Regions from separate parts of the Homo sapiens genome. Here region 1 is linked to region 2. The links are contacts of gene promoters, found by promoter capture Hi-C in blood cells and fetal thymus (Javierre and others, 2016). All regions are on one chromosome and are shown on one strand. The core of a region is centred on a gene start or on the middle of the fragment in contact, and the rest is flanking DNA. Distances in the headings are between cores, read along the strand shown. Region 1 overlaps TNC (tenascin C). Region 2 holds the start of WHRN (whirlin).

Evidence for each region. The method cuts DNA at HindIII sites, captures the fragments that hold promoters and counts their contacts. A CHiCAGO score of 5 or more calls a contact.
Region 1: a fragment that was not itself captured here is called in contact with the fragment with the promoter of WHRN in region 2 in 2 of 17 cell types (monocytes and activated CD4 T cells); the score reaches 5.9 in monocytes.

What each region holds. Positions count from the first base shown.
Region 1 is chr9:115,031,033-115,035,054 of GRCh38, reverse strand. It overlaps TNC (tenascin C), which reads left to right. Exons shown (of 28, transcript NM_002160.4): 23 at 3,370-3,502. Among named protein-coding and RNA genes, the nearest start is that of TNC, 85 kb to the left of the region's middle. The HindIII fragment of the contact is 1,485 bases long and covers 1,027-2,511 here.
Region 2 is chr9:114,503,352-114,507,316 of GRCh38, reverse strand. It overlaps WHRN (whirlin), which reads left to right and starts at 1,844. Exons shown (of 12, transcript NM_015404.4): 1 at 1,844-3,133. The coding sequence starts at 2,516. RefSeq lists a silencer at 1,750-2,049 and enhancers at 1,574-2,464, 2,465-3,355. The HindIII fragment of the contact is 12,008 bases long and covers 1-3,965 here.

The sequences.
Region 1 (4,022 bases), core at 520-3,019, 530 kb before region 2:
ACCTTCTGAATCATACTCTCCAGCCTCTTTCATTTTAACCAGACTCCAGTTCTGATAGGCAGCCAAGATCAAGAACCACTGCTTACAAGACTTGAGGACATTTTAGGAGCTGGAATCTTGATCCTTTAATATTTTGTTGAACAAAGGCCAAAAGGTTTCTCTGCATGTTTGCCATATGTATTATCTCACAGATGGTATCTTTATATTATATATTGTAATATGTTTCACCGTGTTCTTATGATATCAACTGTTAATACCATTTTTATCCAGTGTTTATATTATTTATATTCGCTACCCAAGAATTTTCTTTCTTTTACCTTTTAATTTGAAATAACTTTAGATCTTCAAACAAGCGAAGGAGATTTCCTAAACTTTACCTTCCAAACTTGTTATTGAATTTTTCATTTTGGTTATCTCACTTTATATTTCCAAGATCTTTTGCTTGTTCTCCACACATTGATCTTTTTCTGGCATTTTGTTTGTGCTTCCTATATCATCATCTCTTTATCTCTAAGAATATGTTGCTGGTATTTTATTCTATATCCTGCACAGTGTTTGTTACAAGTTTCTTTGTTTTGCTGCTGTTGTTGAGTTTGGTTTGGTTTGGGTTTCTGTCTTTCATGTTGGAGACATCCACCCAATGTCTGTTGATCATGGTCTGTCTTTTTGTATTTGAACTAGGAATGAAAGAGCTAATAGGGAGTTAGCTCAGGCAGGGCTTGTCAACTTTGTGGCTCCCTGCAGAATGATTGGGCAAGTACCCACAGTTTTCTTGGGGGACCCCCAAATAACAGTGCCATAAAACCTGGCCTCTCACTGTGTACAAACTTTCATCTTATTATGTTTCCAGTGTAGCACCTCGGCCTCCTTGAAGGCTGAGCCTGGTGGATTTGAATCCGGACTTCCTCTCTGGCTCAACCTTTCCAGAGAGTAAACCTCAGCCTACCATCTGAATGGGAAAGGGCAGTCATTTAGACTGTTGGAGGGAATGAGGAGATCTTAGAGTCTGTTTCTTACAAAAAAGCTTCTAAACAAACCAAACCTTTGTTCAACCACACTCCACATTGGCCTTTAAAGACATCTCTGCTTTTGTACACATTCCTTTACTGAACTTGCTGGACTCTGTGACTTGCACCAAGCAGCCTCTGACTAGCTCTGCCCATGCTCCTTAGTTAACCTCAGCCTTCTTCATTCATTCCCCTCCATGGTCTCTCTACCACTCACTTTCTATCTACCAAGTTTCTGGCACACCTGTTGCTGTCTCCTCTCCCATTCCCCTCATCTTCATGGATTTATACCTTACATTCTCTTGCTCTCTTTTTAGTGGGTTTTAGAAGCAAGTAGAGATGAGTGGCTGTATCCAATCTGTCATATTTAACCAGAACTGGACACATTGCTAATAACTATCATGCCCCTTCCTGGAATTGATATAACAATGAACTATCTCACTGTGTGAGCTGAAGCAAATCCTTTATCTTCTCTGGGTGTCAGTGTTCCCATCTGTAAAATGAATGCCTTGGACTTATCCATCTTTAAGGTCTTCTCCTTGTCAGGCATTCTAGGATTCTGTGTTTACCTGAATCATGAGTCTCATTTTGATCTAGAGTACCCTAATTGCCTAGAAAATGGCTTTGCACAGAAGCCTAGAGAACTGACAGGTAATTGTATTCCTAAGTAATTCAATGAACCCAGCTTTATCCCTGACAGTTGATCTTTCCCCCAGGGACTAGAACTGGGGGGCTGCAAAAAGGCCTCTGGGTATTAAATGAGCACTCATCCCAGTTTACTTTTCTGCATGTCCATTCACCAGCTTTACATGTCTTAGAAAAAAAATCAACCTGGTATAGGAGAAAAGAGTCCTGGACAGGGTGTTGGGAAACCCGCATGCAAGATCATCCTCTGCCTCCAACAATTTATGGAATGAGAGCAAGTCTTTTAGCTTCTCTGAAACTCAATTCTCCCATTGAAGAAAACAGGATAAGGTACCTTCCCAGTTCCCAGGATGCAGGAGAACCTTCCAGGGGCTTCTGCACTGATGCATGACTGCCCAAACTAAGCTGGCTGTTTGCAGGTTGTAGAGAAGATCGTTGTGCTTGGTTTACTAGGAGTGTAGGTTGAATTCCAATCCCAGACACTAAGGTCATTTGCTGAAAAGAATTGGAAGCTAGCAAGAGGGTGTGGAAAGAGGATTTCCTGCAAACTGAAACCAATGACCTCCTCTGTACAGCAGCACAGAGACCAGCCACAGACTACAAGTGTAGTTAGAGTTGGTCAACATCTGTCTGTCATGGATATCTCTGTTCTAGAAGAGAGACATGTGAGGTCAGCTTAAGTTTTAATCCTACCATGCCTATGGGGCTATTATAATCATCTCCTAACTCAAGAGATCCCCAAACTGACTGCACATTCAAATCACTTGGGAAGTTTCTTAAATATAGCCAGGCCCAACTTCTGGCTCTGATGATTCCATCAGTCTGAGATGAGGCCCAGGCATCATATTGTTTTAAAGCTTCTGAGAGTGATAAAGAGCTATATTTAGGGACCACTGACCTAACTGACCTCAAAGTCCCTTACCCTGTGTGATTCATCTTGCTACCAGATTAAGCTTCTTAAAGCACAGCTTGGTTTATGTCATTGGCATGTCCAAACATCTTTCAAGGCTCCCCATTTCTTGTGATGATAAACTTCAAGTTCCAAAGCTTAGCATTTATACCTTACAGGGCTCCTCACTCCGTTTAATGATAAACTTTAAGTTTCAAAGCTTGTCATTTAAAGGCCCTTCATAATCTAGTAACATTTTCCACTGTTCTAACACCTGAAGCTAAGTATGGTTGAGGTCGCTTATTGCCTCCTTATATTATTTCATTTTATGTTTTAAATCTGCTTTATTCAAAGTTTACTGATTTAAATATTAATCTCATCCAAAAAAAAACCCCCTTCACAGAAACATAGAATAATATTTGACCAAATATCTGGGCCCCATGGCTCAGCCAATTTAACACATAAAATTAACCATTACAATCCCATTCTCCCAATATAGTTTGGCAGGGCCTTGGGCAGGTGGTAGCCTTAGCCCTGGAGTCTACAGCAGTGCTCTCATCCTTACCAGATGCGGTCTCTCCCTCCTTATATTATTTTAACTTGCTCTGCACCTTCTGGCCCAAGGACCTTTGCTTGTGCTGTACTCTCCCCATCTCTGATATCTCAGCAGTGCACATGGAGCCTGGTAGAGAGTGGGTACTCAATGAATTCTTGTCCAGTAAGTAAGTGAATGGATGGGTAAATGAACTTATAAATAGAATGACTTCTTATCTATACCCTGAGAATTTCTGTGACCAAAAGCCATTATACTTTTTCTTCTGCTCTTAGGAAGTCATTGTGGGTCCAGATACCACCTCCTACAGCCTGGCAGACCTGAGCCCATCCACCCACTACACAGCCAAGATCCAGGCACTCAATGGGCCCCTGAGGAGCAATATGATCCAGACCATCTTCACCACAAGTAAGGAGGCCCAGGGTGCCATCCAGCCTTGAGATCTAACTTTGACTGAATCAACCCTTGACTTCCCCTTTGACTTCTACTTTAAAATTTTCAAACAAACCTCTGAAAAGAATCGATTCACTGCTACTACTTGGAAGCCTGAGGAAAGCAAATGTGGGAGATTATGAGCATCCCGGTGAAAGGAAAGGAGGAAGCCCATCTGGATTCAGTCCCCATTTCTATCACCTGCTAGGTGTGCCTTAAGAATGCTACTTCCATCCTATAATCTTTAGCTTCTTCGTCTATACAGGGAGATTAATAATAAATCCTCTGTCACCAGGACCTTGCAAGTGTTCATGAGGTATTGCATTTGAACTCCTAGCCCAGTATGTGGCCCATATAATTGTGTGGTCCTTTTATTGTCAGAGTTCAACATGAGCTGAAAGTCTCTTTCTTTCTCCTTCATCATGCCAGTGTTTACAAAACCTGTCCACATTCAAAATCACAAATGATCTTCCCACCAAGCTGGTATGGTGAGCCC
Region 2 (3,965 bases), core at 595-3,094:
ATGTCATTAATACATTTTTGGGGTGGAGAAGATTGATTTTTTTTCCTTAAACATCTTGGTCTAGTTGCATGAAAGGCTTCAACAACAGTTACAAAGGAGGAATAAGGATAGACACCATTAACTGCTAAGATTAGAGCTTTAAGACAGATGGCCAAAGGTAGCCTAATTGGCTATTTTTTAAAAAATCTTCCTCAGACACACTGTTAAATATGTTTATTGGGCATTAATTTAACCTATGTCTGTTTTAGGGAAGTAAAGAATTGAAGATCTTTAGGGAAAACACAGCTTCCATTCCTAGCCTCAATGCATTAAGTCAGCAGTGTTGAAAACCTTTCCACTCTTCCCCATTGTCTAGAGGAGAAAGTCCGTTTTCCTTACAGGTTCTTCATTCAGGTGTCGCCTCTTCAGTAAAGTCCTTACCATATTCTCCTCTCCTAAACCTGGGCTCCCTCGCCATTACAACAGGTATCACACTGGTTTTTAACTCTATTTATTTGATCTTTCTCCCCTGGGTCTCCAGCACCCAGCACATGACCCAGCACAGAGCAGATGCTTCAAAAACGTTGAATGAAAAGCGACCAAATAAATAAATAAATAAATAAATAAATAAATAAATAAATAAATGAATGATCTATCCTTCTGGGTCCACCACAAACCAAATCCTCCAGGTAATCCTCCATCTTGCCCTACCCTGGATAGATGTCAGCTGGCTCTGCAATGGAAATTCTGGAAGACTTTTACGAAAAATACATAGAAGAGTAGCTTAGGAGAGGCAGCTCAGGTTGGAAGGGATGTGTGTGAGGTAGGGTGTGTGTGTGTATGTGTGTGTGTGTGTGTGTAGCACTATGAAGCTCCCCATTAGAATAAAAGCACAGGATTTTACTTAAATCTTATTTGGGGGATTGGGTGGGTGACGACCGACTCCAGGGCACACCTGGGTGTATCTTCCCATTTTGCCTAGGGATGGGAGAGCATAGAAGAGATTTTTCTCCAAGCCACTTCAAATATGTATATTTTTAATTTCTATTTTGAGATTGTAGATCCAAATGCAGTTCTAAGAAATAATACATAGACATGCCATGTACCCTTCACCCAGTTTCCCCCGATGTTGACACGATGGCAACCAGGACATTGACATTGATAAAATCCACCCACCTTACTCAGATTTCACCAGTTTTATATGCGCTCATTTGTACGTGTGTGCGCGAGCGTGGGGTGTACACTTTATATAATATTTCTGAAAGTGGCTTTTCCCTTGCAATGGAGACTGGGAAGGGGTCCAGCCTGATCCATCCCTGCCACGGAGTTGACTCCGGCAGACAGCAGTCTATGCTTGTATTCGTCTCTCGCACACAGTAGGTGGCCAACGACCGTCCACATAAACCCTGGAATTTGTCATGTCAGGGCGCGTGCAGGAGGGGAGCGCCACATTGTAAGGAAGAAAACCGAGACTGAAGTGCCCAGTATTTTGGAAGCAAAAATCAAACAAACAAAAAACTTGACGATTTCCCCCCGAATTGTGAATTAGCTAGCCGGCTAATTACTCCAAAGCGATCCTGGTGTCGGCACTCGCTGCGACCGCCGAAGAGCGCTGTTTCTGAGCCCCGCTCCCGGCTCTGCCGGCGGGGTAGGGGACGCGGGGGCTCCTCCCACCCCTACCGCCGCGTTCACCCCTTTCTTCCCTGGGGCTGGACTGTTTCACCCCGTCTCCAGGCAACGGCCAGGCGCACCGGGCGGGACGTCATTTCCTGAGGAGCCCGTGGGGAGGGGGCGGGCAGGAGGAGGGACGAGGGGGCGGGGCCCGGGCCGGGCTGGCAACGAGACGGCGTCGGAACTCGCTGGAAGACTCGGCCCGGGTGGCTCAACAGTTCGCAAAGTCCGGGCTTGCGGCCGGGCGGCGCAGAGGCGCGGAGGCTCCCCGGGCGGCTGCATCCCGGGGCTGCCCCGGACATGCCCCGCACCCCTTGTCGGACGCCCGCGCCGCTTCACCGGCTGCCACTCCCCGGAGTGCTCTGGGACTAGAGCGCCCTCCGCCCCAACTTCTGACTTTGGGGTCCCCCAGCCCTAGAGGAACGGGCGCCCGGCTGGGGGAGCCCCGGGCATGGTGTGACGGGGCAGTCAGGTCAGCTTTGCGGCGCCCCCAAACTCCAGCCACCCGTCGTCTCCGTGCCCTCCAGAATGTAGCTGCTGACCCCGCGCCCCCCGGACTCCAGCAGCAGTCTCCGCCACCTCCGGGCTCCAGCAGCCAACTCTTGTGTCTCTCAGGAACCCGCCGACGTCTCCGCGTCCCCCGGATTCCAGGTTCGCGACCCCCGCCGTCTTCGCGCCTCCGGGACTCTAGCAGCGGTCTCCGCGACCCCCTAGGATCCAGCCACTGTACCCGTGCTCCCCAAACCCAGGCTCCAGCCGTCGTCTCCGCGCTCCCGGGGATCCAGCTGTCGCGCCAGTACCCGCGAGGACAGCGGCACCGCCCACACCCCGCGCGCTCAGAGCCCGGCCGGGCCTCGGCGTGGAGATGAACGCGCCGCTGGACGGCCTGTCGGTGAGCTCGTCCTCCACCGGCTCGCTGGGCTCGGCGGCCGGGGCGGGCGGCGGCGGGGGCGCGGGGCTGCGGTTACTGTCTGCCAACGTGCGCCAGCTGCACCAAGCGCTGACCGCGCTGCTGAGCGAGGCGGAGCGGGAGCAGTTCACCCACTGCCTGAACGCTTACCACGCGCGCCGCAACGTCTTCGACCTGGTGCGCACCCTGCGCGTGCTGCTGGACAGTCCGGTCAAGCGGCGCCTGCTGCCCATGCTTCGTCTGGTCATCCCGCGCTCCGACCAGCTGCTCTTCGACCAATACACGGCCGAGGGCCTCTACCTGCCCGCCACCACCCCCTACAGGCAGCCCGCCTGGGGCGGCCCCGACAGCGCGGGGCCAGGGGAGGTGCGCCTGGTGAGTTTGCGGCGTGCCAAGGCCCACGAGGGCTTGGGCTTCAGCATCCGTGGGGGCTCGGAGCACGGCGTGGGCATCTACGTGTCTCTGGTGGAACCAGGCTCTCTAGCTGAGAAGGAAGGACTGCGGGTCGGGGACCAGATTCTGCGCGTCAACGACAAATCCCTGGCCCGGGTGACCCACGCGGAGGCCGTCAAGGTAAGGCTGTGGTTTGGAGAGAGTCTGGGGCAGAGTATGGACAGAGTGGCACAGCTTTTTCAGTAACTCCATGCTGTGTGTCCTTAGATGAATCACTTGGCCTTTCTGGGCTTTTTTTTTTTTTTTAATACTTTAAAACAGGAATGTATAGCTTACAGAGCAAATAGCTCTCAGGCACTGGGAACGTAGTTCTGCACAGACATGGCCCTTGCCTTTGTGAGGCTTAAAAGCTAGTGCAGGTGATAGTAACAAATACTTGAGCAAATGTGTGGTTACAATGTGTGAATAGGGCTGTGGATTCTTATGAGCATTAAAAGAGATAAAATCTCTGCTTGGCATAATTAGGTGGCCTTTGCTACTGCCATTCTGTGGTTTTTTGTTTTTTGTTTTTCCCTGAAACAGTTTTGTTAGCTCTTAAGTGGCCTGAGGAGGCCGTTTGTGTGATCCACAGTGCACTGGCTTGACGCTGCTGTTTTTGGACCAGGTTGTGTATCCTGAAGCAAGTCACTTGCCCTCTCAGGACCTCTTGTTCTCCACTTGGAAAATGGGGCCACTGGACCAAATAAGCGGTCCCTAACCTTTTTGGAAATGAGACTCCTGCCTGAATGTAAAAAATAAATTCCCTAGCCCCTGAGAGTGTTTGTCCTTTCTGCCATTTGTTAATTGAGAAATATAACCTCATGACAACAGGCTTCCAGGGATTTAATCATGCTTTTTAAAGGAGTGTGTGTGCTTACTGATCTACAGCCCAGGGCTACTGAAAACCAGTTGGAGTATGATGGATAGTGTTGGGTCCAGGGTGGATTCATGGATCCTTTGCAGGCATTTTTCC